2 separate regions of the Homo sapiens genome follow, and region 1 is linked to region 2. Evidence: promoter capture Hi-C in 16 types of primary human blood cells and fetal thymus (Javierre and others, 2016). All regions are on one chromosome and are shown on one strand. The core of a region is centred on a gene start or on the middle of the fragment in contact, and the rest is flanking DNA. Distances in the headings are between cores, read along the strand shown.

What was found. The method cuts DNA at HindIII sites, captures the fragments that hold promoters and counts their contacts. A CHiCAGO score of 5 or more calls a contact.
Region 1: the fragment with the promoter of COX6B2 here is called in contact with the fragment with the promoter of SYT5 in region 2 in 2 of 17 cell types (total CD8 T cells and naive CD4 T cells); the score reaches 6.0 in total CD8 T cells.

Annotation. Positions count from the first base shown.
Region 1 is chr19:55,351,692-55,355,980 of GRCh38, forward strand. It overlaps COX6B2 (cytochrome c oxidase subunit 6B2), which reads right to left and starts at 3,028. Exons shown (of 5, transcript NM_144613.5): 1 at 2,959-3,028; 2 at 2,719-2,848; 3 at 2,175-2,275; 4 at 1,916-2,083. The coding sequence starts at 2,830. The coding sequence ends at 2,030. GARIN5B (golgi associated RAB2 interactor family member 5B) reads right to left here. Exons shown (of 11, transcript NM_001145402.2): 10 at 3,569-3,654; 11 at 3,217-3,404. The coding sequence ends at 3,609. RefSeq lists silencers at 2,343-2,452, 2,563-2,612. The HindIII fragment of the contact is 2,438 bases long and covers 794-3,231 here.
Region 2 is chr19:55,177,615-55,182,386 of GRCh38, forward strand. It overlaps SYT5 (synaptotagmin 5), which reads right to left and starts at 2,675. Exons shown (of 9, transcript NM_003180.3): 1 at 2,503-2,675; 2 at 1,349-1,472; 3 at 582-754. The coding sequence starts at 1,427. PTPRH (protein tyrosine phosphatase receptor type H) reads right to left here. Exons shown (of 20, transcript NM_002842.5): 19 at 4,402-4,537; 20 at 3,633-4,289. The coding sequence ends at 4,140. RefSeq lists an enhancer at 2,141-2,220 and silencers at 2,208-2,620, 2,501-2,690. The HindIII fragment of the contact is 13,685 bases long and covers 1-4,772 here.

The DNA.
Region 1 (4,289 bases), core at 1,778-4,277, 170 kb after region 2:
CTCTGACCTGGGAGGTTGCTGAGACTGTGAGGCTGGCATTAGGGGTCTCAGGAGGCGGCTACTGGACACCAGGGAAAGCCAGCCAGAGCACCTGGAGGAGGTGTTCGGAGTTTGCACAGGTGATGGTCCACCAGGCTGGAGGCCAGGCCGGGCAGGTCTGCCCCTGCCCCTGGCTCAGGCATCAGTGGGGCAGTGGCGGCTGCAGAGGGGGTCGGGAGTGTGAGAATGTGCTGAGATGAGGTCTGGAGGCAGTGAAGATAGGATGATGGGAGGAGGAGGAAGGAGGAAGGCTGGCCAACAGGGCAAAAATGGGTTCTAGACACGGCTCTGGGGAGGTCAGGAGGCTGCTGTGGCTGCACAGGTGTGGCACCCTGTGCTTGGGATGTTACCTGGGTGACCTCACCAACTTAGCTCCATTCTGTGACTCAGAGAGGGGTCCTGCCCCCGTGGTTCTGCCAGCGCCTCTGTGCATTCGTCAAGGCTCTGGGGACGTTGCATGAACAGGAAGCCCTCCTGTAGTTGAGTCCACACCCTGTGCCCTCACCCCATTCTTGGGTTGTGGTCAGAGACGGAGCCAGGAGACCAAGATCTCAGAGGTGGCGTCATCCTGGGGGATGGCTCATCTAGGGTGTGTCCTGGGCAGCATGGAGGGCAGGTGATGGACAGGTCATCATGGGGCAGGGAGCAGGATGGAGTCAGCCCCCTGAGCTCACCCAGCCCTACCTCCTCTGATAATGGGGCCCTGAGCCATCTTGGTTTGCCTTGGGGAACCTCGGGCTCACACAGGTCAAGAAGCTTGTCTAGGGTCACCCTGCAAGTTGTCATGATTAGTTGTAGTCACCTTTGAACCCTGGGGTTGAACAGGGCCTCATAGGACCGCTTCAGTCAGAGGATGGGGCTTCCCCCTCCTAGGAGCCCCTCTGGAAGGCTGATAGCTCAGGGAGTACCCGTTGGGAAAACCAGCACCCCAGGCTGACTGGTCTCACGGCTCCCTCAGCAGGACCAGGCTGGAACCCTAGGGCTTTGTCAAGCGGCACTCCTTGGCCTGGGGAGAGGCAAGACTTCAAAGGGCGTCTGGAACCGGAATGCGGTTCCGTGTTACTGCCGGGATGGGGAAGGAGTAAAGAATGATTCCGAGGGAGCTCTGAGCGTCCTCTGGGTGCTGGCAGTCTGGCGGGGGTCACAGGAGAAATTGCGGCGATGTGTGCGGTGGGAGAGACTGACAGCGGCCTCTGCGGGGTGGGGGTGCGGGGTGAGCCTGATGCATTGGAGAACTGAGCAGGCTGCTACGCCTGGCTGTGGGTGCGGGTGCCGAAAGCGTGGACACCAGGGGATTCTGTTGGAAATAAGCTGGCTCACATGATGGGGATCTCGATGTTCTGGGAGGGGAAATGAGCCAGGTGGGAGCGGGGTCGTGATGGAGAGTGGTGGAGAGCCCAGAGAGTGGGGGAGGAAGGGATGGAGTCAGCGCTGGGTGGTACAAAGAAGACCCCTCAGGACCCGAGATGGGATGGATCAGGGGTGGGATGGGGAAGGAGCCTGGGGAGATGGTCCAGGCAGGAGGGGAGTAGGGAAAGGACTGAGGTGAGAGGTAGGTGTGGTGATTGGAGGCAGGAGCACCTTGGAGCCATCTGGGTGGGACAGTGTTGAGAACTGGGGACCCTGGGCTGGCTCGTAGCTGTCAACGCGAGGCATCTACCTGCTGGAATGGAGAGGGAGAAGGGGGACGGGAGGCATTCGGCTTCCTGTCTTAGGGCCTTGACTGCCTGCTGCTACCTGATGGAGCAGCAGTCCCCCACCTGCCCCTTATCGGAAAAAGCAGCGTTAGCCCGGACACAGGCACACGGAGGATCCCCACCACCACCACGACGCATCGCTGGCTGGGCATTAAGAAGAAACATCAGCAACAGCATACCATTATTCGTGGCTTAGACACTGGGAGGTAGGGGTGGATAACCGAGACCCGGGGCTCCGCGAGACAAAAAGATGCAGGATCACTGCATCTTCAGAGGAAGCCGCGCTGGGGCAGTCAGATTTTGCCGGCGAAAATCCCGTTCTTGATCTGCTCGTTCCAGCTCTCCACCTGGGAAGCAGAAAGGCAGGGAGCGGGACGCCGGCTCAGCCTCGGCCGAGCCCTGCACACGCCTGGCCCGGCGCCCCCTCTGCCGACTCACCCAGCTGATGGGGCACAGCGAGTGGTACACGCGGAAATAGTACTCGCAGGGCTGCGTGCTCTTCCCGCGGCGGGTCCTGGTCTTGAGGCAGCGGTGGTAGTCTGTGGCGGGCGGGGGTCACGCGGCAAGCCACGCCCATTCCAGGACAGGACCCGCCCCTCCACTGCTCGGGCCCTCCCAGTTCTTCGCTGCTTCGTCCCGCCTCCCTCTCCCCTGGAGGCCTCCGTCCCGCCCCTCCCAGCCAGGCCCCGACCCCTACCTCCCTCACACTGCTCCTCCTACCCAGACCCTGCCCCTACCTACCTCGCCCCGCACCTTCACGACTCGGCCCCGCACCTTCCAGATCAGGCCTCGCCCCTACCAACCTCGCCCCGCCCCTCCAGGCTCAGCCCCGCCTTTTCTCGACCAGGCCCCGCCCCCACCAACCCGGCCCCGCCCGGCCTCCCACCCTAACGGTCTCCGCGGGACTTAGGGTGGGAGTGCCCCTCCCTGCCGTCCCTTGTCACACCCTGCTCCTCCCATAACCTGGCTGAGCAGGTCTCACCCAGGAAGTTCTGGTAGCAGTTACGGATCTGGTTCTGGCTGGGGAAGCGCGGGTCGAAGGGCGGCGTCGACCATTTCCCCTTGGGGGGCTCCTGGGCTTCCACATCCAACATCCACGAAGGAGGCAACTCCTGCGAGACGGGACGGGACGGGGACTCCGTGGGGCCGAGGGGGCGCCCTCGCTCCGACCCGTCTCCCCATCCTGACCCCCGCCCCTGAACCCCACCCGTCGTGCCCTCACCAGCCTGACGTTGGCGGCCACTGGATCTGCTGTGGGATGGTCCCGGGGTGCCGCTCGCTTCTGAGTCCGCGGGGTGCGGTCCCACCCGGGTCAGGAGAAACGCACCCCGCGGCCGGATTGGCTAGGACGCCCGAGCCCCAGCCAATGGGAGCCGTCGTGCACCGCGGGGCTGGTAGGGGCGCCCCCACCCCACCCCTTGCTCCCCCGACGCCCCCTCGGGGGCCTGCGCGTGCACACAGGCACCGAGGTGCGACTCGCTGAGTCTCAGGCTCAAGCTTTAATCTCTGCGAAGTTGGGCGGCTCCACGGGCTCGCCCCCGCCCCCCCCCGCCCCCCAATATATAAAGGCATATCCATAGTTCTGGTATCTACCAGAGGGGGCAAATCCCCCCAAGCGGCTTTCAACATTCCGCTTCCTACAGTCGGTGCGCACAGAACCCTCGGGGCCTGTGGGGTTAAGAGGAAAGAGCAGCGGTGGGGTCCGGGCTCCTGGGAACCCCCCCGCCCCCCTCGTCCTCCCCCCTCCGTTACCCGCCCCCCCCACCCTCCTCCCTCGCCCCCCTCCCCCCGCCCCCAGGTCTAAGGCAGATCTCCAGGGTCTTAAAGGGTACCTGGCAGCGCTGGGCTCCTCTGGACAGTTTCCAACTGAGGTTAAGCCCCCGCATCCGGCCACTCGGAGTGCTGGGAGTGCTGCAGGCTGCAGGGAGAAAGCAAGCCAGAGAGAGCTTTGGGGGACAGGGTAGGGAGAGAGGGGTACCCAGGGCTTTAAGAGCTGCAGATGCCTGGCTTAGGAGAGCGTCCCCCAGGGCGGGTCTTGCTGTGTGTTTGGCTCACTGTTGTATCTGCCTGGGGCAGAGTCTGGCAGTAGTAAATGCACAATAAATCCGAGGCGGAATCAATGAGTCTTGGCTCTAGGGGCAGACAAGTAACTGGAATCTGGGCAGGTGGTTTCACCTCTAGATCCCTGCTAAGCTTCTCTCCCTCCTGCCTGGTTAATATCAGGCCTGACTCAGGATTGTTTACACTGACAGCCAAATGTACGAATTAAGAATCCCGGCCAGGTGCGGTGGCTCATGCCTGTAATCCTAGCATTTTGTGGGGCAGAGGCGGGAGGATTGCTTGAGTCCAGGAGTCTGAGACTAGCCTGGACAACATGGTGAAACCCCATCTCTACAAAAAATACCAAAATTAGCCAGGCGTGTTGGTGCGTGCCTGTGGTTCCAGCTACTGAGGAGGCTGAGGCAGGAGAATCACCTGAGCCTGGGTAGCTTGAGGCTGCAGTGAGCTGTGATGGCATCACTGCACTTCAGTCTGGGCAACATGTGAGACCTC
Region 2 (4,772 bases), core at 1,425-3,924:
CAGGCTGGAGTGCAGTGGCGCGATCACAGCTCACTGCAGCCTCCACCTCCCGGTTTCAGTGCCTCAGCCTCTCGAGTAGCTGGGATTATACCACACCACCATGGCTGGCTTTTGTATTTTTAGTAGAGACAGGGTTTCATCATGTTGCCCAGGCTAGTCTTGAATTCATGACCTCAGGCAATCTGTCCACCTCAGCCTCCCAAGTGCTAGGATTACAGGCGTGAGCCACCGCACCCGGCCCAGAGCCAAATATTTATATGTTTCTGTAGGTTTCTATACAGTGGGATGCCTTTTCTGTGCTCCTATGAGACCCTGTAGTATGGCACATATTACCCTGTGTGGTGAGTGTCTGTGTCAGTGCCTGACTCTCCCACCAGACTGGGAAGTTCTTGGGAATAGCAACTAGTTCTGTTCCATCTCTGGGTCCCCAGAGTCCAGTTGAGGGCTAGACACACAGGGAGGATGAGCCAGTAAGGTGGGTTCCTATAGGACAGAAGGGAGCAGGGACTGGGACCAGCTGGGCCATTGAGAGGAGCAGGGTGCGGGAAGGGGCCAGGTGGAGGGGCTGGGCTGGGCCACACCTTGTCTATGTAACTCTGGCCCAGCCCCTTCACTTCCTGAAGGTGGACCTGGGCTTGGGCCTGGCTCTTCTTGCCTGTCCGCCTCCGACAGCTCTTCCGGTAGAGACAGAAACAGCAGCTGAAGATGAGGAGGCCTGAGACCAGCACGATGGTGGCCAGGGCCCAGGGGGGCACTGCAGAGGGGTGGAGACAACACACATTGAGGCCTGGGCAGCACGCAGGCTGATTCAGTCCTGATTACACGTGGAAGCTGGAATGCTGGCCTCCTTTTCCCTCCAGCCATTTTCATTGCATTTCTTCCTGTGTTTTTCTTCCACCTAATGTGGCCTATAGAGAGATTCGATGCCCCAACCCAGGCTGACACCATCTGGATTTGCTTGCTTGTTAGTTCTGCCTTTCCTTACCCGACCCCGCCCCCCATTTCTGCTCAACTCCTGATGCTTTTACAAGAAGCCCTGCTCCTCATCGGGCCTGTTTCCTTATCTGTAAAAGAAGAGCTAGGTGGACCTTCCAATTCTAAGATCCCATTCCATGCAACACCCCTTGATCCGGTTTCGATTTTTTTTTTTTTTTTTTTTTTTTTTTTTTTGCAAATCTGTTCCTTCCTTTTACCCCATTTCGTTCGCATTCCAGTCCAGGATGACGACCCGGGATCCCAGCCGGATTTTCCAGCCCGCCTGCCCGAGTACACCCGTCCGAATCCCGCCCCTCGGAATCCTGGCCAGGCTTTCTCTCTGCTCGGCCCCCCACCCCCGGGTCTTGCTCACCTGGGCCGTGGCTGATGCGACTGGAGTCGGGAGGCGTGTCGGGCGATGGAGGCCCCGGGGTTGGGGGCTCCGGGAACATGGTGGCGGGGTCCTGGAGTCTTTTCTGCAGAGACACTCAAGCACCCTAGTCCCCCATTCCCACCCCAGACGTCCTTTGAGCCCCACGCACAACAAAGAACTCCAACTCCCATGAGGCCTTTGCGCGAACAGCCGCGCAGAAACCGGACAGCCACCGCGAGTCATGCTGGGAGTTGTAGTATCAGCCTCCCCGCACTTGAGAGGGGGTGTCCAGGACCTAGTTCCATCCTAAAGGGATACCCTCTTCCTCCACGGCCCCACAGGCATCCCGCTGACTTCTGCCTCGTCCTCGCCCCTCCGCAGGGTCTGAACCGGAAGCGGGCGAAGGCAGACGTGGGAACCAGCAGACCGCGTTGCCCAGAGCAACAGCCGGGCTCCTCTCAAGCGGGGTGAGAGCAAAGCTGGTTGCCCGGGCAACGGGTTGTTGCCAGGACAACGGGCGGGGCTGACGCACAGACGCGGAGTCCCGGCGGGGCAGGCTCGCTCCGGGGCCCACCGGTGCCTGGGAACCCCCCAATAGCCCGACTGGGATCCTGAGGTCCCGCGAGGTGGGGAGCGGGCAGCCTGTGGTCCGAGCGCCCACAGCCGACTGCTCCCTCCGCACCTGGTCCTGGGAGCTGAGACGCAGGTTCCCTCTTCCCTCTCCCCAATTTTGCTGGAGGGCGGGTCGGGGGCTGCCCGGTGCCTGTGCTGAGCCCCCTCATCCTTCTTGGCCTGTTGGTCTCTCCACGCATCCGTGCTGCTCTCGTGACCGCCTCGGTCTCCACGCTGCCTCTTGACCCCACATAGGCGTCTTCCCTGTGTCTGCCTCCCCAACCCGCCTGTCTCTCTTCCCTATCGCCTGGCCTCTGTCTCCAGGGTCTCTCCCTCTCCCCTCCGCCTGCGCCCCACTCCCCGCCCTCGGCTCTTTGTCTTCTCCATACCTGTCTCGCGTCCCCAGATCCCTGTCTCTCCGCTTCAGGCTGCTGCCCTCCCTCTGGTTGTCTCCCCAGTGCCCCAGCCCCCACTCGCACACCCCTTTCCTCTAGGGATGCGGATGCGGATGGGCTGAGGGCGGGGGTCCCAGCAGCTCCTACCTGCTCGGCGGCTGGACGGGACACTCCCGGGAGACGCCGAGGCGCCAGCCCCGCCCGGACCCCACCCCCTGCACGTGGGCGGTGGCGCTGTCCCGGGTGCTGATCGCGGAGCTCTCCGGGGCGGGGGAGCCGCGGAGCGGAGCAGGATCCCGTGCGCGCGTGTGTGCCCGTGTGCGTGTGCGCGCGTGTGTGGTGTGTATTGTGTGTGCCCGTATTTGGTCTCGGGTAGGCGGAAAGCCCTGCCCCGCCCCTCCTCCCGCCTCCACCCGGGAACCTCGATGACGCCCACAGATGTTTATCCTGGTGCTTTAGCATTTTCTGCCTTCTGGTCCAGTCGTTGGCCGTCCAGACCACTCCACTCCTCCCGCCCCAACACACACGACACACACCCTGTATAGCCCAAAGAACGGCATGCCAGGATACTCAGTCCTAGGACCTAGGAGACCCCAGACCCCCATTGGAGACCCAGACTCTGCAGGGTTCAGCATCAAAGTCCCCAGCTATCAGCCCCCAGACATCGCCCTCTAAGTTCCCCTAACACCAGTCCCAGGAGGCGGCCAGTGCGGTGGCTCATACCTGTAACCTCAGCACTTTGGGAGGCCGAAGCAGGAGGAATGCTTGAGCCCAGGAGCTGGAGACCAGCCTGGGCAACATAGCAAAATCCCGTCTCTACAAAAATGAGCCAGCGTGGTGGTGCGCACTTGTGATGGCAGCTACTCTAGAGGCTGAGGTGGGAAGATCACCTGGGCCCAGGAGGTCAAGGCTGCAGTGAGCCACTGCACTCCAGTCTGGGCAACAGAGCAAGACCATGTCTCAAAAACAAAAACAAAAACAGAACAAAACAACAACAACAACAACAGAGAAGAGTAAAAGAAAAGCTCAGAAGGCAAGTCCCCAAGCACCTAGCTCCAGCGAGCCCTGTCCATACTGCCCAGACCCTGGACACAGACGTCTGGACACTGCCTTCTCTGAGAGACTCAACCACCCAAACCTACATTTTTTCATGTGCAAATGTGTGGGTCCCTCTAGTCCCCTCCTGGACGTTCGCCTCGATCCCTAGATACCAGGAACCCATCCCTACTCCCAATCCAATATTATTTCCAGACCCAGAAATCCATGGGACAACTGTCTCTGGGGAGAACAGTGATTTAATAAATTATGGGATAGAAGGAAAAATACATGTGGATGGTGGGGTGCAGAGAGACCTTGGGCACAGGGACTCCCTCCGACCCCAGATTATAGAAGACTGATTTGGTTTCTGAAGTAAAATCAAGGCAGGATCCTTCCTGCCTTTGGTCCTCAAGTAGCCAGAACTCCAGACCCAAATTCCTTCCTGCCTCAGAATCCAGGCCCCAGCCTGTTTCTTTCTGCATCCTGGAAAGACCTAGGGAATCCAAGCTATCATCCCTCTCCTCCTTCAGGGAACCAGGAATCCAGATCCCCAGCTCCCATAGGACTCATCTGAAGCCCACCAGACCACTCTCTCCTGGGGAAACCAGAGTTTGGGATACCAGCCCCCTCCTCCCACAGCACCCAGGAGTCTGGGAGCCCAGCCCTCTGCTCTTCCAGGAATCTGGGCTCAAGTGGGTGTCCAGAGCTTGAGGATGCCTGGGCTGCCGACCCAGCCCCCTCGTCACTTAGACCTCCAACTTGTGGGCCTGGATGGCGGCCACGTTCTCGTAGATGAGGTTTTCGACATCCTCATACGGGACTTCCTTCTCGGCTGGGGCCTGGGCTGACTGTTGGAGGAACCGCAGGATGCACTGATGCAGGAATACGTACTGAGCCTGGGAAGCAGGCACGGGAGTGAGAGGCGTCCCCCCAGGTCTGAGCTGCGTGGAGCCCCAGGGTCCCTCGTCCCACTGCCTCCCGTCCTGTGTTGCTGAGGGACTGCCTCACCTCAGTCTGCACCATCAACGGCCGACTCTCTCTCATCTTCCTTACAAAGCTGAAGGGCCCAAGGAGACCCTCGGACTGCAGCTGCCGGAGCAGGACGTCCAGGGCAATGAGGGTTCCTGTGCGACCCACGCCAGCACTAGGCAGAACAAGGGAAGGGTCAGACCAAGGGGCAGGAGTGTGAGGGTCCGGGGTCATGGCTGATTGGAGGGATCTGTGTTTGAATGATGACAATAACTATGCCTGCTCACACCTGTAATCCCAGCACTTTGGGAGGCTGAGGCCGGTGGATCACCCAAGGTCAGGAGTTCCAGACCAGCCTGGCCAACCTGGCAAAACCGTCTCTTCTAAAAATGCAAAAATTAGCCGGGTAT